7 separate regions of the Homo sapiens genome follow, and regions 1, 2, 4, 5, 6 and 7 are each linked to region 3. The links are contacts of gene promoters, found by promoter capture Hi-C in blood cells and fetal thymus (Javierre and others, 2016). All regions are on one chromosome and are shown on one strand. Each heading gives the region's core, a stretch centred on a gene start or on the middle of the fragment in contact. The rest is flanking DNA. Distances are from core to core; before and after follow the strand shown. Region 1 has its middle 68 kb from the start of RRAGB. Region 2 has its middle 150 kb from the start of RRAGB. Region 3 holds the start of KLF8 (KLF transcription factor 8). Region 4 has its middle 200 kb from the start of RRAGB. Region 5 overlaps RRAGB (Ras related GTP binding B). Region 6 has its middle 17 kb from the start of NBDY. Region 7 overlaps RRAGB (Ras related GTP binding B).

Evidence for each region. The method cuts DNA at HindIII sites, captures the fragments that hold promoters and counts their contacts. A CHiCAGO score of 5 or more calls a contact.
Region 1: a contact is called between a fragment that was not itself captured here and the fragment with the promoter of KLF8 in region 3, in 1 of 17 cell types (naive B cells). The highest score is 6.3, in naive B cells.
Region 2: a contact is called between a fragment that was not itself captured here and the fragment with the promoter of KLF8 in region 3, in 1 of 17 cell types (total B cells). The highest score is 6.6, in total B cells.
Region 4: a contact is called between a fragment that was not itself captured here and the fragment with the promoter of KLF8 in region 3, in 2 of 17 cell types (total B cells and naive B cells). The highest score is 11.0, in total B cells.
Region 5: a fragment that was not itself captured here is called in contact with the fragment with the promoter of KLF8 in region 3 in 6 of 17 cell types (total B cells, naive B cells, M2 macrophages and 3 more); the score reaches 12.3 in total B cells.
Region 6: a contact is called between a fragment that was not itself captured here and the fragment with the promoter of KLF8 in region 3, in 1 of 17 cell types (naive CD8 T cells). The highest score is 5.1, in naive CD8 T cells.
Region 7: a fragment that was not itself captured here is called in contact with the fragment with the promoter of KLF8 in region 3 in 2 of 17 cell types (naive B cells and total B cells); the score reaches 6.9 in naive B cells.

What each region holds. Positions count from the first base shown.
Region 1 is chrX:55,784,060-55,786,759 of GRCh38, forward strand. No RefSeq gene overlaps it. Among named protein-coding and RNA genes, the nearest start is that of RRAGB, 68 kb to the left of the region's middle. The HindIII fragment of the contact is 1,812 bases long and covers 480-2,291 here.
Region 2 is chrX:55,869,921-55,872,891 of GRCh38, forward strand. No RefSeq gene overlaps it. Among named protein-coding and RNA genes, the nearest start is that of RRAGB, 150 kb to the left of the region's middle. The HindIII fragment of the contact is 3,036 bases long and covers 1-2,898 here.
Region 3 is chrX:56,230,766-56,233,605 of GRCh38, forward strand. It overlaps KLF8 (KLF transcription factor 8), which reads left to right and starts at 1,591. Exons shown (of 6, transcript NM_007250.5): 1 at 1,591-2,576. The coding sequence starts at 2,570. The HindIII fragment of the contact is 3,283 bases long and covers 1-2,840 here.
Region 4 is chrX:55,920,295-55,923,205 of GRCh38, forward strand. It overlaps a transcript of KLF8 not described here. Among named protein-coding and RNA genes, the nearest start is that of RRAGB, 200 kb to the left of the region's middle. The HindIII fragment of the contact is 9,872 bases long and covers 1-2,911 here.
Region 5 is chrX:55,751,732-55,754,532 of GRCh38, forward strand. It overlaps RRAGB (Ras related GTP binding B), which reads left to right. Exons shown (of 10, transcript NM_006064.5): 7 at 1,661-1,783. Among named protein-coding and RNA genes, the nearest start is that of RRAGB, 35 kb to the left of the region's middle. The HindIII fragment of the contact is 4,544 bases long and covers 1-2,801 here.
Region 6 is chrX:56,711,112-56,713,954 of GRCh38, forward strand. No RefSeq gene overlaps it. Among named protein-coding and RNA genes, the nearest start is that of NBDY, 17 kb to the right of the region's middle. The HindIII fragment of the contact is 5,674 bases long and covers 1-2,843 here.
Region 7 is chrX:55,733,619-55,736,541 of GRCh38, forward strand. The region is part of intron 5 of RRAGB (Ras related GTP binding B); the gene reads left to right. Among named protein-coding and RNA genes, the nearest start is that of RRAGB, 17 kb to the left of the region's middle. The HindIII fragment of the contact is 1,854 bases long and covers 729-2,582 here.

The DNA of each region.
Region 1 (2,700 bases), core at 136-2,635, 450 kb before region 3:
TTATTGAGCATTCACTCTGCCAGGCATTTGCTTAAGCACTTTATCTGGACTGTGTCATCTAATCTGCCCCAGGAAACCTTTGCTGTTGATGCTACTATTATCCTCTATTTCTATATGAGATACGAAGAGGCTATATTCAGGGTTCCAGAGTGACAGAGCCAAATAGGATGTATATGTATATGAAAGGGAGGTTATTAGGGAGAATTGGTTCACATGATTACAAGGTAAAGTCCACAATAGGCCACCTGCAAGTGGGGGAAGAAAGAAGCCAGTAGTGGCTCAGTCTGAGTAAAAAAGCCTCAAAGCCAGGGAAGCCAACATTGTAGCCTTCAGTCTGCAGCCGAAGGTCTGAGAGACACCTGCAAGCCATTGGTGCAATTCCCACAGTACAAAGGCTGAAGAACCTGGAGTCTAATGTCCAAAGGCAGGAGGAACAGAAGCAAGCGTCCAGCACGGGAAGCCAGAAAACGCACCAAGCAAGCTTATCCCACCTTCTTCCACCTGCTTTGTTCTAGCCATGCCGGCAGCTGATTGCGTGGTGCCCACTTACATTGAGGGTCTTCCTCTCCCAGTCCCACGACTTAAATGTTGATCTCTGGCAACACCCTCACAGACACACCCAGAAACAATGCCTTACCAACCATCTAGGCATCCCTCAATCCAATCAAGTTGACACCTAATATTAACCATCACAGAGACTAAGCCTCTTTTATTTGGTAGCCAATAAAATGGCAGAGATGGAATTTGAATCTAAGAAATTTATACTGGAGCCTGTGTACTTAACCACGTCTTGATACTACTTCTCAAATCCACAGATGTTTTTCCCTTACACCAAGCAGTCTCCTGACCATGGCCTACAAGATCTTATGTGTCCTGAATGGTAATGCCTAGGTTTTCTTCTAGGGTTTTTATGGTTTTAGGTCTAACGTTTAAGTCTTTAATCCATCTTGAATTAATTTTTGTATAAGGTGTAAGGAAGAGATCCAGTTTCAGCTTTCTACATATGGCTAGCCAGTTTTCCCAGCACCATTTATTAAATAGGGAATCCTTTCCCCATTGCTTGTTTTTCTCAGGTTTGTCAAAGATCAGATAGTTGTAGATAGGCATGGGAAAGGACTTCATGTCTGAAACACCAAAAGCAATGGCAACAAAAGCCATAATTGACAAATGGGATCTAATTAAAGAGTTTCTGCACAGCAAAAGAAACTACCATCAGAGTGAACAGGCAACCTACAAATGGGAGAAAATTTTCACAACCTACTCATCTGACAAAGGGCTAATATCCAGAATCTACAATGAACTCAAACAAATTTACAAGAAAAAAAAACCCCATCAAAAAGTGGGCAAAGGATATAAACAGACACTTCTCAAAAGAAGACATTTATGCAGCCAAAAAACACATGAAAAAATGCTCACCATCACTGGCCATCAGAGAAATGCAAATCAAAACCACAATGAGATAGCATCTCACACCAGTTAGAATGGCGATCATTAAAAAGTCAGGAAACAACAGGTGCTGGAGAGGATGTGGAGAAATAGGAACACTTTTACACTGTTGGTGGGACTGGAAACTAGTTCAACCCTTGTGGAAGTCAATGTGGCGATTCCTCAGGGATCTAGAACTAGAAATACCATTTGACCCAGCCATCCCATTACTGGGTATATACCCAAAGAACTGTAAATCTTGCTGCTATAAAGACACATGCACACGTATGTTGATTGTGGCACTATTCACAATAGCAAAGACTTGGAACCAACCCAAATGTCCAACAATGATAGACTGGATTAAGAAAATGTGGCACATATACACCATGGAATACTATGCAGCCATAAAAAATGATGAGTTCATGTCCTTTGTAGGGACATGGATGAAATTGGAAATCATCATTCTCAGTAAACTATAGCAAGAACAAAAAACCAAACACCGCATATTCTCACTCATAGGTGGGAATTGAACAATGAGAACACATGGACACAGGAGGGGGAACATCACACTCTGGGGACTGTTGTGGGGTGGGGGGAGGGGGGAGGGAAGCATTAGGAGATATACCTAATGCTAAATGACGAGTTAATGGGTGCAGCACACCAGCATGGCACATGTATACATATGTAACTAACCTGCACATTGTGCACATGTACCCTAAAACTTAAAGTATAATAATTATAAAATTTAAAAAAAAAGATTTTATGTGATCTGGCTTCTATCTACTTCTTCAACATCATCTCTTACCATTTTCTTCTCAATTCATTCTGCTCCTTCCATAACTGGCCTTGCTAATTTTAACATATCAAGCTTATTCTTACTTTAGGATCTTTGTTCTAACTGTTCCTACTTGTAATGTTCTTCCCATGACTTGTTCATTCTCATTATTCAAGTCCCTGTTCACATTACCACATCAGATATCTTCTCCATGAACACCTCATCATAACTACTACTATCTCACCCCCTGTTATGCTCTAACATAGTATCCTGTTTTAATTTCTTTATAAAACTTATCATTACTTGAAATTATTATTTTATTTATTTGATAATTTTCTGTTGGCTCTCACTAGAATTGTAGGTCCACATGAGGGCAGGGACCTTGTTCACCACTGTATGCACAGCATCTGGAACAAAATCTGACATACAGTAAAGGACTCAGTAAATACTTGTTTAATGAATGAGCAAACCCCACAAACATTTATTCAACACCTTCTACA
Region 2 (2,971 bases), core at 131-2,630, 360 kb before region 3:
CTTAAAACTTAAAGAGAGAATTCTGAAAGCAGCAGGAGAAAAGTAACTTGTTACCTACAAGAAAACCCTCATAAAACAATCAGTGTTTTTATCAGTAGAACCTTGCAGGCCAGAAGGAGTAGGTGGGTTGATAGATTCAAAGTGCTAAAAGGAAAAAAAGAAAAAAAAAACCTGCCAGGCAATAATACTACAATTGGCAAATATGTCTTTCACAAAGGAAAGAGAGACAAAGACTTTCTCAAACAAAAGTTGAAGGAGTTTAGTACCACTAGACCTGCCTTGCAAGAAATGCTAAAGTGAATTCTTCAAGTTAAAACAAAAAGATACTAAACAGAAATGTGAGAGCATAAGAAAGTATAAAACTTGCTGGTAAAGGTAAATACATAGACAAATAGAGGGAATACTGTATTACTATAAAAGTAGTGGGTAAATCACGCTTAATTCAATTATAAAAGTCAAAAGACAAAACTATTAAAAATAGTTATAAGTAAATTATGTTAATGGTTACACAATATAAATGAATCTAAATTGTGACATTCTTGACACGTAATAATGTGGGGTAAAGAGAGGTAAACATGTAGAGTTCCTCTACACAAGTGAAGCTAAGTTGTTATCAGTGTGAAATAGACCATTGTAAAACTACAAGATATTTTATGTAAGCTCCATGTTGATCATAAAGAAAATACTTACAGAAGTTACATATGCAAAAATAAAAAACAAAACCTATCGACACAATAATAATAATAATAATAAAGACAGCAAAAGAGAAGAAAAGAGACACATGAACTATAAGACAAACAGAAAACAATGAACAAATAGCAACAATAAGTCTTTTCTAATCAATGTAAATGTAAATGGATTACACTCTCTAATCAAAAGATATACAATGGCTGAATGAATTAAAAGTAAAGAGTTGGAAAAAGATATTCTATGCAAAGGAAAGCAAGAGAGGCTATACATATATCAAACAAAATAGACTTTAAAAACTTTTTAGAAACAAAGACAGTAATTGTATAATGACATAAGAGTCAATTCAATAAGAAGACATAATTTTAAATACATATGCACCCACCATTATAGCAATTAAATATTTGAAGCAAATATTGACATATATGAAAGAAGAAACTGACTGCAAGACAATACTAGTAGAAAACTTCAAAACTCCGTTTTCAATAATGCATAAAGCATCCAAACAGAAAATAAATTAAGAAACTGTAGACTTGAATAACACTACAGACCAAATGGACCTATCAGACAAAACTCTCCACCCAACAGCAGAAGAATATACATTGTTCTCAGCACACATAAAACATTCTTCAGGATAGATAACACATTGGGCAATGAAACAAGTCTTAACAAAATGGGTAAGTTTGAAATTATACCAAGTAACTTTTCTGACCACAGTGGAATCAAATTCAAAATCAGGAACAGTAAGAAAATGAGAAAATTCATAAATACGTAAAAATTAACAAGATTTGAAAAACCATTCAGTCAAAGAGGAAATCAAAAGGAAATTAAAAGAGTGTCTCAAGACAAATGAAAACAAAATTACTACATACCAAAACCATGTGGAATGTAGCAAAAGCAGTATTAAGAGGAAAATTTGTAGCAATAAATGCCTACATTAAAAGGCAAGAGAGATCTCAAATAAACAATCTAATGTTACACATCAAGAAACTAGAAAAAGAAATGAAGACTAAGCCCCAAACTTAGCAGAAAGGAAATGAATAATAAAAATCAGAGCAGAAATAAAACAAATTGAAAAAAATCAACAAAATCAAGGTCTAGTTTTTTCCCCCGAGACTGAGTCTTGCTCTGTCACCCAGTCTGGAGGGCAGTGGTGAGATCTCGGCTCACTGTAGCCTCTGCCTCCCAGGTTCAAGCAATTCTTCTGCCTCAGCCTCCCAAGTAGCTGAGATTACAGGGGCCTGCCACCACGCCCAGCTAATTTTTGTATTTTTAGTAGAGACAGGGTTTTACCATGTTGGCCAGGCTGGTCTCGAATTCCTGACCTCATGATCTGCCCGCCTCAGCCTCCCAAAATGTTGGGATTATAGGCGTGGCCAAGATGTAGTTTTCTGAAAAGATAAAATTAACAATCCCTCAGCTAGTTTAAGAAAAAAGAGAAGTCTCAGATAAATAAAATCGATGGTAAAGAGAAGGCATTAAAACAGAGGCCTTAGAAATAACAAGGATCATAAGAATGTATTATGTACAATTATATGCCAACAAATTTGATAAAATAAGTGGATACATTCCTAGAAACAGGAAACCCACCAAGACTGAAATAATGAATAGATATAAAGCCTAAGCAGACAAATAACAAGTAAAGAGATTGAAATGTTAATAAAATACTGCCTAACCAAAAAAAGCACAGGACCAGATGGTTTCATGGGTAAATTCTACCAAATACTCAAAAAAATAATTAATACCAAAGCTACTTAAAGCCTTAAAAAAAAAAGAAGAGGAAACGCTTCAAAACTAATTTTATAAGGCTAGCATCACTTTCATGTGAAAGCCAGACAAAGACACCACAGAAAACAAATCTAGAAGCCAATATCTGTGATGAATATAGATAGAACAGTTCTCAATAAAAGACTAGCTAACTTAATTCAAAAGTACATGAAAAAGATTATACAACATAAATAAGTAAAGTTTTCCCAGAGAAGCAAGGCGAGTTCAGTATATGCAAATCAATCAATGTAATGTAACATAATATAAACCAAAAGCCATGTAATAATCTCAATAGACACAGAAAAAGCATTTGACTGGGTTCAACATCTATTTATAATAGAAAACTGTAAACAAAGTAGGTATAGAAGAAACTTACCTGAGCATAATAAAGGATATTTATAAAAAGCCCACAGTTAGCATCTTAATGAATGAGGAAAAACTGAAAGCTTTCCCTCTGAGGTCTGGTTGAAGGCACTTGCCAGTTCTATTCAACAGATCATTACATATCAACATAATA
Region 3 (2,840 bases), core at 341-2,840:
TGGCATCCAAGTTACAGAAATGAGATCGCCTGGTGCTTCAGCTCAAGGACTTTATAGTTTAGTAGGGGGAGGCAATTATACCAACAAATATGTGCCCCGAGGTAGAGAAGGGCACAGAGGAAGCAATGGTCAGTTTTGCCTGAAGAAATTAAGTAAGGAGGGGAGATGACCTTGAGTTAGTCCTTTCAAGAAAGTGGACAGATTCATTGGAAGGACATGCAAGAAAAAAAAAGGTGGACAGAGAGCTTAGTCTATTTCAGTCAGAGAAAGTAAAGCAACCCAAGGCATAGAGATTGGAAACAGCTTGGAATTCCCAGGGATTTGTAATCCAGGTAAAGCCCAGGAGAACAGCAAAATCTCTGCTGCTTGAGAGGCAGACAAAGGCCAGATCACAGCAGGTTAAAGGATGAGTTCCAGGGTGCTGCCTTGGATGTATGGTGGTGCCATTCAGGTAGTTGGTGAACTACAGGAGGAAGAACAGAGTGTTTTGGGGAAAGGAAGGTAGATGAGATGCACAGAAGACATTCAGGCAGAAATATCAACTAAGTAAGTAGACCTATGTGTTCGAAAGTACTGGGCTGAGGCCTTCCGTTTCCTTATTTTTTTAAATAAAGGGCACAGAGAATATAACAGTACCTAGTTCCCAGGGTTGTTATTGGGACTAAATGGGGAAATGTTGAATGTAAAAGCACCTGGCTCAGGGACTTGCCCATATTAGGTGCTGAATACATGGCAGATATTATTATTTCTCCTGTCTCTTTGCTCTTCCTCCCTCTGCTTTGTTTCTTGTCTCTCTTCTTTTTCCTCCTCTTTAAAAGAATTGTGGTAGGGAAGAGGCACTGAAAATGGGCTGTGGTTGCTTGTGACTTCCTGGCCTCCCATTAAAATGAGCTAGAGAGAGACTTTCAGGCAAGCGTAAAGAAATCCTGGAAACATGGCTCCTATCCTGTGGATTCAGCTTTACGGGGATCTTCGCCAATGCCTGGCTGAGAGGCGGTCTCAGGGGGTTGAGAACTCTATTCTTAGAGGTCTGGTATCTGGGAGACTGAGAAAGCCTTTCTTAAGTCTCCCTGCTGGGCCACGCTGTATTCACAGATCATCTTCAACTCCTTCTTCTTCCCCACCTACTCCTTCGCCCTCACCTCCTTGGCTTATCTCTTGCTAGAAAATGCACCAAGCTCCAATCTCCGTTCCTTTTAGCTTCCTCCCTGAGAAGACACTGTGACCTCGCTGTCCTTGTTCGTGTTACCATGGAGAGGTAGGAGGATAAATATCGCTTCCAGTTGTCAGCTTTTTTGTTTTCTCCTTTCCCTCTTAGACAGCCCCCAGCCCCAATCCCAGTACCCGTTTCACCACCCTCCCCTGGAGAATTAGCATAACCGGAGTAAATAGGTAATCAAGCAGTGTGCTTGCAAGCCTTAATTTTGGGACAGATAAGGAAGTGAAATTGATTGGAATTATACCTGCCGCTGCTGGAGGCTGAGGGAGGCGGCCGCCGGAGGCGAGGCCAGCTCTGTCGGCCCAGGGCCCCGCCCCACCCCCTCCTTCCTCCCTCCTCCTTCTCAGCCCCACCCTTCTCCACCTCCTCCCACTTTGCACTCTCCTCTAGCGGCCGCCTGTCCTTTTTAAGGAACTCCACCCTAGGTGGAGTCCTCACGATAGTCACACCTCTCCTTTGGGCCTAGCAGGGCCAGAGAAAGACGGAATCACTCTACCCACTCAGGTTGCCCAGAGAGCACTTTAGGTTCTGACTCGCGTGGGGCGCGAGGTACCCCGTGGGGCAGCTAGGTGCCTCCAAGAAACCCCGCCCCAGAGGACCCGCACGAGTTGCTGCCATTTTTCGCTGAAGCCCCTGCCCTGGGGCTGGTGTTCTTCTCTATGATTCTACCAATCGTCGGCATTTTTTTCCTCCCTTCTTTCTTTTTAGGAAGGCGCTGGGGTGTGCGGCGGCAACGGCGGCGGTGAAGGGATCCTCTTGTGGTATCTCCTCGTGGGTTCCTGTCTTGAAGGATTTCTTCTCCGCCTCAACTTTATGTTCAAGTAGCGCTTTGGGGGTTGGGTTGGTTTTCATAGCCCCCACCCCCGGCCCTCTCCTTTTAAAGGGTGTGTGGAGTTCAGAGGATGGGTGGAGAGCGGGCTTGGCCGGAACTGAATTGGTAGAGGTAAAAGGGGAACGGAGGACCTTAAGCTCTGGCCACTTCGGCCCAGCGAACCCACTTTATTTTTGTCCAAGGAAAAGCTGCAGGGGGGAGGATTCTTTTTAGGAAGTCTACTCTGCCGGCCCCTGATTTTTGGGTTGGATGCTTGAGAGCTTTGTTTCCCTTGTTCCGAGAGTGGCCCAGCTGGGTCTGAATCGACTCCCTCCCCTTTCGACCCCCTCCTCATTTTCCAGCCCGGAGAAATAGGGGAGTGGGGGCCCAAGAACGAGAAGACGAGAACGCGTCGCCCTGCGCTATGTCAGAATGGGGCGGGTGTGAGGGGAACAGCTCTCTTGCGATCAGCTCAGGAGTATGAGCCTCCCGGAGGACGGCATGAGTTCTGGACACTTCAGGAGTCCTCAGCTAGTGACATGGTCGGTAAGTGACTCTGGGACTAATACCCACCCACTCCCACCTCTTTCGTCTAGATTCTATCCCCCTCCCAGTCCCCCTGCTCCCCCCACACACCCCACTTGGGGTTTCAGCAGTGGGGGCGGGAGCGGAAGGTTAAGAACACTATGTGGAATCAAATGAAACTCAAGGGAAAATGACTTTGCTAAAGGGCTGGGCAAAGAAAGGCCAAGAAGGAGAGGAGAGAGCTTGGTGGAAGAAGTGAAAGGGGGCAAGAATGGATGGATTTGT
Region 4 (2,911 bases), core at 371-2,870, 310 kb before region 3:
TCTGACATGGTCTACCCAAATGAGAAGGATACAAAAAAAACAATTCTGGTAATATGACAAAACAAGGATCTTTAACATACCCAAAATATCCTGCCAGCTCACCAGCAATGGATCCAAACCATGACGAAATCTTTGAACTGCGAGAAAAAGAATTCAGAATGTCTGTCATTAAGCTAATCAAGGAGGCAATAGAAAAAGGTGAAGTCCAACTTAAGTAAATCAAAAACATGATACAGGATAGGAAAGGAAAATTCTTCAGTGAAATACATAGCATAAATAAAAAACAATCACAGCTTCTGGAAATCAAGGACACACTTAGAGAAATGCAAAATGCAGTGGAAAATCTCAGCAATAAAATCAAACAAGCAGAAAGAACTTCAGAGCTCGAAGACAAGACTTTTGAATTAACCCAGTCCATCAAAGACAAAGAAAAAAGAATTTTAAAAAATGAACAAAGCCTCCAAGAAGTTTGGGACTATGTTAAATATCCAAACCTAAGAATAATTGGTGTTCCTGATGATGAAGAGAAATATAAAAGTTTGAAAAACATATTTGAGGGAATAATCAAAGAAAACTTACTCGGCCATGCTAGACATCTAAACTTAAAAGTAAAACCCCAAACTATAAAATTCCTAGTAGAAGAGAATCAAGGCAATACCGTTCAGAACATAGACACAGGCAACCATTTCATGATGAAGCCGCCAAAAGCAATTGCAACAAAAGCAAAAATTGAGAAATGGGATCTAATTAAAGAGCTTCTGCACAGAAAAAGTAACTATAATCAGAATGAACAGACAACCTACAGAACTGGAGAAAATACTTTCAAACTATGCATCTGACAAAGGTCTAATATTCAGCATATACAAGGAACTTAAATTTATAAGAAAAAATCCCATTAATTCATCTTGAGTCAATTTTTGTATCAGGTGTAAGGAAGGGGTCCAGTTTTAATTTTCTGCATGTGGCTAGCCAGTTTTCCCAGCATCATTAATTTAATAGGGAATCCTTTCCCAGTTGCTTGTTTTTGCCAGGTTTGTCGAAGATAAGATGGTTGTAGATGTGTGACCTTATTTCTGAGATCTCTATTATGTTCCATTGATCTATGTATCTGTTTTTGTATGGGTACCATGCTGTTTTGGTTACTATCGGCTGTAGTATTGTTTGCAGTCAGGTAGCATGATGCCTCCAGCTTTGTTCTAAAACCCAAAATTATAAAAACTCTAGAAGAAAATCTAGGCAATACCATTCAGGGCATAGGCATGGGCAAAGATTTCATGACAAAAACATCAAAAGCAATGCTACGAAAGCAAAAATTGACAAATGGGATCTAATTAAACTAAAGAGCTTCTGTACAGCAAAAGAAACTCTCATCAGAGTGAAGAGACAACCTACAGAATAGGAGAAAATTTTTGCAATCTATCCTTCAGACAAGGTTCTAATATCCAGAATCTATAAGGAATTTAAACAAATGTACAAGAATAAAAAAACCCCATTATAAAGTGGGTAAAGGACATGAATAGACACTTCTCAAAAGAAGACATTTATGTGGCCAACATACATATCAAAAACAAACTCAACATCATTCATCATTGGAGAAATACAAATCAAAATCACAATGAGATAACATCTCATGCCAGTCAGAATGATGATTATTAAAAAGTCAAGAAACAACAGATGCTGGCAAAGCTGTGGAGAAATAGGAATGCTTTTACACTGTTGGTGGGAATGTAAATTAGTTCAACCATTGTGGAAGACAGTGTGGCAATTCCTCAAAGACCTAGCAGCAGAAATACCATTTGACTCAGCAATCCCATTACTGGGTATATACCCAAAGAAATATAAATCACTGTATTGTAAAAATACATGCATACGTATGTTCATTGCAGCACTATTCACAATAGCAAAGACATGGAATCAACCGAAATATCCATCAGTGATAGACTGGATAAAGAAATATGCTACATTACACAATGGAATACTATGCAGCCATAAAAAGGAATGAGATCTTGTCCTTTGTAGGACATGGATGGAGCTGGAAGCCATTATCCTCAGCAAACTAACACAGGAACGGAAAACCAAACACTGCGTGTTCTCACTTATAATGGGAGGTGAACAATGAAAATGCATGGATACAGGGAGGGGAACAACACACGCTGGGACCTGTCAGGGGGACAGCAGGGGGAGGGAGAGCATCAAGATAAATAGCTAATGCATGTGGGGCTTAATACCTATGTGATGGGTTGATAGGTGCAGCAAACCACTATGGAACACTTTTACCTATGTAACAAACCTGCACGTCCTGCACACATATCCTGGAACTTAAAATAAAATCGAAAGAAAGAAAAAATCCCATTAAAAAATGGGCAAAGGCCATGAATAGACACTTCTCAAAAGAGGATATACATGTGGCCAACAAACATATGAAAAAAAGCTCAATATCACTCTGATCATTAGAGAAATGGAAATCGAAACCACAGTGAGATACCATCTCACACCAGTCAGGATGCCTATTATTAAAAAGTCCAGAAACAACAGATGCTGGTGAGATTTTAGAGAAAATGAAACTCTTTTGCACTGTTGGTGGGAGTGGAAATTAGTTCAACCATTGTGGAAGACAGTGTGGCGATTCCTCAAAGATGTAGAGGCAGAAATACTATTTGACTTAGCAATCCCATTACTGAGTATATACCCAGAGAAATAGAAATCATTATTTTATAAAGATATATGTATGCATATGTTCATTGCAGCACTATTCACAATAGCAAAGACATGGAATCAACCCAAATGCCCATCAATGATAGACTGGATAAAGAAAATGTGGTACATATACACCATGGAATACTATGCAGCTATAAAAAGAGATAAGATCACGTCCTTTGCAGGGACATGGATGGAGTTGGAAGCCATTATC
Region 5 (2,801 bases), core at 137-2,636, 480 kb before region 3:
ATTGCTGGAATGGATACCACACTGCTTACACTAATTATGGAGGTTACAACAATAGCTTTGTTATGGATGAAGCTGAAATTACCTTATTGGCACATAGGCTCCTTATTCTGATTCCTCCCTTTCTCCTACTGATCTAGTTATTTGAAGGACTAGGTCCTTTTGGATCCTTCTGTAGTTAGCCCTTCCCTTCAGACTGCTTCTGGTATCCATTGACAAGTCTGACTCTGGGTAGGAAAGCACCCTTCTCTGTCACTGGTAGCTACAGCCTCAGTATCAACAGCATCTGACAAGTATCTACAACCAGAAGCACAGAAACCTGATGTGGCAAGGAGAAAAACCATTGGACTTTTAAATAGCCATTGCTTTTTTTTTTTTTAACTAATTCATTTTCCCCAATATTATGTTGACCCAGCCTCACTCTAATAACAGATCATTTTGAGATACCTGTCTAGGAAATACTGTTCTAGATTAATATGGGCCGAATTTCTCTCAAAGCCTTATTCCCATAGAACAGGTAACCGTGAATAAGGATGGACATGACGCACTGATAAGAACCAACTGCGGTGTGAAGGATGGCAATACATAACACGACCAAAGACAATTGGCTAATCACAACACTGCTGTGAGTGACAATGTCTCTGCTGTGGTTAGCTTTGGTGCCTTCTCCAAGGTAAATTCAGCAGTGACATTAACACCGACCTGGGAACTTGGAACCTGAACCCTCATGCCTAAGTAATAAAACTAATTGGAACAGAGACATGGCACTTCTGTCTCTTACATCAATGTTGCATAGAGCTAACTTAAATTTTTATATTAAGTTTTATTCAACAAGCACTCTTTACATACCTGCTTGATGCTGTTGGATACACAAATGACTAAGACCAGGTTCCTGCCCTCTTGTAGGGGAGAGAAGAACAAAGTACACCTTACCAGACAAATTGGAGTGAGAGTGAAGGAAGTATTATAATGAAAATACAAATAAAAGAGCCTACAAGAATAGAGGGAGAGTGTGGTTAATTTCAACTGCTTACATTAGTCATACTCCTGGATGAAGTCAGTTTTAGGCAAAAACACAGTAGACCATTTTGAATTCAATTGGATCAATAATTTATATGGATAACAACAAACCTTTGGGAATGATAATGCCACTAGTTTCTCTTTTAATGGTATATTATTCTATTGAGGGGAGGGGCCATTTGTCTATGTGGCTCTGCTACTTTCATAAAATTGATTCTTAGGTATATGTTAAATATAGCATAATTAGGTTCTGATCTTTAGAGAAATCTACACTGTTGGACTTAAATATTTGTGACTAGATTAGGAGCTTTTTAACAAAGTAGATCATATTTTTCAACTTTTTTCCTAAGGCAACATGATGGCATTAAATATTTGTTTGCTTTCAATTATCAATGGAAAGAAGTTTCTCCAGCATTTTACAAAAGTGTTTGAACTTAAAAAAAATTCAACTCAAGGGTAAAAATCAGATGCTAGCTTCATTTTCTCATTTCATTTGTGTTATATCATATTTAATGTCAGTATTTGTTTGGGACTGGATTATCATCATATTTTGCTGTCCACATATTATAGTGTACTTACTAATTTCAAAGGTCTGGGACTGACTAGCTGTTAATAATAGTACACTGTGTTTCTGTTCTGTTAGGCTTGGTCCAGCATAGTTTATCAGCTGATTCCCAATGTTCAGCAGCTGGAAATGAACCTAAGGAATTTTGCTGAAATTATCGAAGCTGATGAAGTACTTCTTTTTGAGAGAGCTACTTTTCTGGTAAGAACTTTCTGCTTTGCAGATGTACTTCACACTGTACGTTCTTTGTTTTCAGCAACAGAGAACAGCATGTCACTACTTTCAGGAAGAACCTTTTTCCCTCTTGTCAACTTTAGCATGTACAGACTTATTTATAAAATAGTATTGTCAGCAAGTGACCTGAAAGAAGCCCTTTGGTGTGTAGCTCTTTGGAAGTTAGTGAAACTTAGATTTTTCCAGGTATGTATTATTAGAGAGTTCAGATTGTTGGCTGGGCATGGGGGCTCACGCCTGTAATCCCAGCACTTTGGGAGGCCGAGGCGGGTGGATCACCTGAGGTCGGGAGTTAGAGACCAGCCTGACCAACATGGAGAAACCCCGTCTCTACCAAAAAATACAAAATTAGCCAGGTGTGGTGACGCATGCCTATAATCCCAGCTACTTGGGAGGCTGAGGCAGGAGAATCGCTTGAACTCGGGAGGCGGAGGTTGGGGTGAGCTGAGATCATGCCATTGCACTCCAGCCTGGGCAACAAGAGCGAAACTCCATCTCAAAAAAAAAGAGAGTTCAGATTATTTATGCTAGTAACTGTTCATTTATGTTAAAGGATTCCTATTTCCTGTGGACTTTTATTATGAAATGTGGGATATTTTCCTTTTGAGAAAACTCACATCCTATCCTTTTCTCTAAAAGACTCATTGAAAACTTTTAATGTAGAAGAGATGTTATGGTCATCTCAGTGACATAGGAGTTCACATGAAGAAGTGGAGAGGGAAAGAGGCATGTTGGTATTTTTATTTTTCTTGTAAATTGAACTTAGCAACTATATTAGAGCCTATTGTTTGTATAACCCTGAAAGGGGGATGCAAAAACCAGTATTGTATTTGTAAATACATTTTAAAAATAGCAATAATAGAAACTAAGGTGTCACAACACACTGCATAAGTAATTGCTAATTAGCCTTGGTAAATGTAACTCTAAGAGCAGTTCCCAGTAAATAATTTGTTTCTGAGCCCTGCCAATGCTTGGTGATTTTAGA
Region 6 (2,843 bases), core at 159-2,658, 480 kb after region 3:
ACTACTATGTATCTACCCAGAGGAAAAGAAGTCATTATATGAGAAAGATACTTGCACATGCATATTTATGGCAGCACAATTTGCAATTGCAAAAATGTGGAACCAGTCCAAATGCCCATCAATCAATGAGTGCATAACAAAATTGTGGTATATTTATACATATGATGAAATACTACTCAACCATAAACATGCATGGCATTCACAGCAACCTGGATGGAACTGGAGGCTATTATTCTAAGTGAAGTAACTCAGAAATAAAAAAACAAACATTATATGTTCTCACTCATAAGTGGGAGCTAAGCTATGAGGACACAAAGTCATAAGAACTATACAATGGACTTTGGGGACTCAGGTGAAAGAGTGGGAGCAGGGTGAGAGATAAAAGACTACAAATTGAGTTCAGTGTATACTTCTCAGGTGATGGGTACACAAAATCTCAGAAATTACCACTAAAGAACTCACCCATGTAACCGAATACCACCTGTTCTCCCAAAACCTATGGAAATAAAAATAAGTAAAAAAATAAATAAGCAATTGGGCTGCTTTTTGGTAGAGCAAGTGTGCTTCATTAGGGGGAATTCTTCCTTGTCCTGACTGTTTGGATTCTCCAAAACTAGCAAACTGGAATGGCTGTGTTGACTGAACTGCAGAGATGGTGGCTGACCCTCTTCCTGGGAGCTCCATTTCAGGGAGAGATCAGAGCTCTATCTATAGAACCCTGGCTGGAGTAGCTGAAGCCTCTGCAGGGAAGTCCTGCCCAGAAAGAAATAATGAATTGGGGTCTCACTTAAAGAAGCAGTCTGGCCATGATCTGGCAAGACAGCTTTGCTGGATTGTGGGGGAACCTTCCTTTTCTAGACCATCTGTATTCTCCAAAGCCATCAGGTTGTAATGTCTGAGTCTACCAAACCACAGAAATGGCAGCCACCTCTCCCCCTGGGAACTTGGACCCATCTCAAGCAGAGTCCTGTCTGTTGCTATTGGCTGGCTGGAATTCCAAGCCAGTGGATCTTAAGTTGTGAGGTGCCATGGAAGTGGGGTCAACAGAATAATGTCATTTGGCTCCCTGGATTTGGCCCCCTTCCTAGGAATATGTACAAACAGATTTCCCACCTTGCCAGGGATTCTGGGGCCAGAGTAAGTAAAATAACTGGGTTTCTGTGTGTGCCTGAGTGACTGCTCTGCTGAGACTCAACGCAGCTCTGCTGAGACTACACACACACTTATTGCACCCCAAGGCCCTGGTGGCATGGGCTTATAAGTGTATCACCTTATCTGTGGGGTGCAAAGATTTGTGGGAGAAGTGTGGTTTCCCAGGTTGAGTCGCACAATTACTTACTGCATCTTTTGGCTGGGGGTGGGGATTGCTTTGGCTTTGTGCCACTTCTGGGTGGGCCATCACCCCACCCTGCTTTTCTTCTCCGTGGGTAGAGTTGTTTGCCTTGTCAGTCCCAATGTGAGAGCCTGGATATTTCAGTTGAAGGTGCTGAATTCACTTGCCCCTTTTTTTTCCTTTCTGTAAGTGCCATGAACTGCAGCTGCTTCTAAGTAGCCATCTTGGCCCCTCCCTTATTTAACATTTTTTTCCAATTTTTTACCATTAAAAGTAATACTGTGGTAAATATTTTTGTGTTAAAATTTTTGGAAATCTTAAATTTCTTTCCTAAAGACAGATTCTGAAATTTGGAATTACTTGGTAAAGAAATAAATACTTTACACCTACTTTTAATATGCTTTCTAAAAGTGTTGTACATATATAAACTAAAAATTACAATATATTATAGTACCACTTTTCTGCATTGTCAGTAGCATTGTGTGTCTTTTTCCTAAATTAGTTGGTGAAAATAGTGTCTACATTTTTTAAATTCACATTTATTTTTAATTTTTAATTGTAAGAAATGTTCATTGAACTCATAAAAGTAGAGAGTAGAATGACGGTGGGTGGGGTGGAGAAAAGAATTGGGGAGTTGTTGGTCAAAGGGTAAAAAGTTTCAGATAGAAGAGAGGAATAAGTTTTTAGATCAATTGCACAGTTGGGTGACTATAGTCAATGATAATAAATACATTTTAAAATAACTAAAAGAGTACATTTTAAATGTCTCCCCATAAAAATGATAGGTAAATAAAATGACTAATATGTTAATTAGCTTCATTTAATCATTCCACATTGTACACATGTATCAAAACATCACAGGTATTCCATAAATATATACAATTATGATTTGCAAATTAAAAATTTTGCATTTATTTGACAACTTATTGGTTGCATACTTTCCAGTATTGGACAGTCTGTTGTTTTTTCCTTTTCAAAAAATGTGTGTTTCTGTTTGTGGTAGACACAAACAGATGTTTGTGATCTGGCCTTCAATGAACTCCACTTTCAGCTATTCATGACCATGTGCAAACTCCTCTCTCTGGGTGTAGGTTTGACCTAGTGATTAACTTCTGATTAATAGAATATGCTGTAAGTAATGGGATATCACTTCTAAAAATTAAGTTGTAAAAAGACTGTAGCTTTAATCATTAGAACTCTGACATTCTCTCTCTAATCACCAACCTTGGGAAAAGCTAGAGCTTCCAGCAACCTTGTAGAAGGGTCCAAGTGGCAAGAGATCAAGCCTTGAAATAATCATATGAGTGAGCTTGGAGGAGGATCTGCCACCAATCTAGCCTTCAGATATGACAGCAGCCATAGCTGACAGTTTGACTGCTACCTCATAAGAAACCTAGAGACAAAGAAACCCAGCTGAGCTGCACCTGAATTTCTAAGCCACAGAAACTATGAGATAATAATGTTGGTTTCTTTAAGCTGCAAAACCTGGTTTATTTGCATCTTCCTCTTA
Region 7 (2,923 bases), core at 406-2,905, 500 kb before region 3:
ATATTGAACCATACTTGCATCCCTGGGATGAAGCCCACTTGATCTTGGTGAATGATCTCTTTGATGTGCTGGTAGATTAGGTTTGCTAATATTTAGTTGAAGATTTTTGCATTTATGTTCATTGAGTATATTGATTTGTAGCTTTCTTTTTTTATGTCCTTTCGTGGCTTTGGTATTAGGATGACACTGGCTTTGTAGAATGAGTTAAGGAGGATTCCCTCATTCTCAATCTTTTGGGACAGTTTCAGTTGGATTGGCATCAGTTCTTTGACTGTCTCATAGAACTTGGCTATGAATCTATCTGGTCCTGGGGTTTTTTTTTTTGGTTGGGAAATTTTGAGTTTTTGTTTCTTTTTTTTTTTTGAGACGGAGTCTCGCTCTTTCACCCAGGCTGGAGTGCAGTGGCGTGGTCTCGTCTCACTGCAAGCTCTGCCTCCCAGGTTCACGCCATTCTCCTGCCTCAGCCTCCCGAGTAGCTGGGACCACAGGTGCCCGCCACCACACCCAGCTAATTTTTTGTATTTTTAGTAGAGACGGGGTTTCACCATGTTAGCCAGGATGGTCTCAATCTCCTGACCTCATGATCCGCCTGCCTCGGCCTCCCAAAGTGCTGGGATTACAGGCTTGAGCCACCGTGCCCGGCTGGGTTTTTTTTTTTTTTTATTACTGATTACGTCTCACTAATTGTTAGTGCTCTGTTCAGGATTTCTATTTCTTTTCCTGATTGAAGCTTGTGTGGTTGTATATTTCCAAGAATTTATCCATTTCCTTTAGATTTTGTACTTTGAGTGCATAGAAGTGTTCATAGTAGTCTCAGTCATCCTTTGTATTTCTGTGTTTATCAGTATGATGTTTCCATTTTCATTTCTGATAGAGCTTATTGGAATCTTCTTTTCTTGCTTTATCTAGCTAGTGGTTTATTAATTTAGTTTATCTTTTCAAAGAACCAACTTTTTGTTTCATTGACCATTGTATTTTTTTAATTTATTTTCAATTTTCTTGAGTTCTACTCTAATCTTTGTTATTTCTTATTTCTTTTCTTCTGCTAGCTTTGGGTTTGGCTTGTTCTTGTTTCTCCAGTTCCTTGAGGTGTGATGTTAGGTTGTAAATTTGTGATCTTTTTGTCCTTTTGATGTAGGCATTTAGTGCAATAAACTTTGATCTTAGCACTGCTTTTGCTATATCCCAGAGATTTTGATAACTTGTGTCAGTATTTTAATTCATTTCAAAAAATTTTTCCATCTTGATTTTATTTTTGACCCAAAGATCATTGAAGAATAGACTATTTAATTTCCATATATTTGTATGGTTTTGAGAATTCCTCTTGGAATTGATTTCTGGTTTTATTCTGCTTTGGGCTGATTTGATACTTGATATGATTTTGATTTTTTAAAATTTATTAAGACTTCTTTTGTGGCCTGATATATAGTCTATCTTGAAAAAGTTCCACGTGCTGACAACAAGAATGTATATTCTGCAGTTTTTGGGTAGAATGTTCTGTAAATGTCTGTTAAATCCACTTTTTCTAGAGTCCAGTTTAAGTCCAGTGTTTGTTGACTTTCCGCCACAATGATCTATCCAGTGCTGTCCATGGCGTGTTGTAGTCCTCCACTATAATTGTATTGCTTTCTATCTCTTTTTCTTAGGTCTAGTAGTTTCTGTTTTTATGAATCTGGGAGCTCTGGAGTTAGGTGTGCATAAATTTTGGGTTGTTATATCTTCTTGTTGAATTGATTTCTTTATCATTATATAATGACATTTTTTGTCTTTTTTACTGTTGTTGATTTAAAGTCTGTTTTATCTAAGAATAGTTATTCCCACTCACTTTTGGTTTCCATTAACATGGAATATTCTTCCTACCCATCTGCCTTAAGTCTATAAGAATCTTTACAAGTTAACTGGGTCTCTTGAAGACAGCAGATATTTGGTTTGTGTTTTTTTCCATTCTGTCCATCTATTATCTTTTAAGTGGCACATTTAGACCATTTACATTCAATGTTAATATTGACATGTGATGTACTGTTGCAGTCATCATGCTGCTACCTAGTTGCTTGGTTTTCTTCAATGTGTTACAGTTTTATAAGTCCTGTGAATTTTTTGCCTTCAAGTGTTTTTATACTGGTGCATATGACCTTTCATTTAGATATTTAGAACTCCTTTTGCATTTCTTATAGGTCTGGTCTGGTGGAGACAAATTCCATCAGCATTTGCTTGTCTGGGAGAGACTTCATTTCTCTTTCACATATGCAATTTAGTTTTGATAGATACAGAATTCTTGGCTGACAGTTATTCCGTTTGAGGAGACTAAAGATAGGACTCAATCCCTTTTGGCTTGTAAGGTTTCTGCTGAGAAGTCTGCTATTAGTCTGATAGGTTTTCCTTTGTAAGTTATCCAATGCTTTTGTCTCACTCTTCTTAGAATTCTTTCCTTCATGTTGACTTTAGATAGCCTGATGACTTGGTAATGTCTTTTTTTATAATGAATCTCCTAGGAGTTCTTTGAGCTTCTTGTATTTGGATGTCTAAATTTCTAGCAAGACCAGGAAAGTTTTCCTCAAATATTTCCTCAAATGGGTTTTCCAAGCTTTTTGCTTTTTCTTCTCCCTCAGGAACACCTGTGATTCTTAGATTTGGATGTTTTATACCTAAACCCATATTTACTGGAGACTTTGTTCATTTCTTTTAATTCCTTTTTTAAAATTTTTATCTGATTGTGTTAATTTGAAAGCCTTGTCTTCAAGCTCTGAAATTCTTCTTCTACTTGGTCCAGTTATTTCTTTATGTTGGTTTCTAACTTTCTCTTGGATATCATTTAGCAACCTAATAATTAACATTTTGAATTCTTTATCTGATATTTCAAAGATTTCATTTTGATTTGGATCCATCACTGGAGAGTTAGTGTGATCTTTTTGGGGGTGTTGTA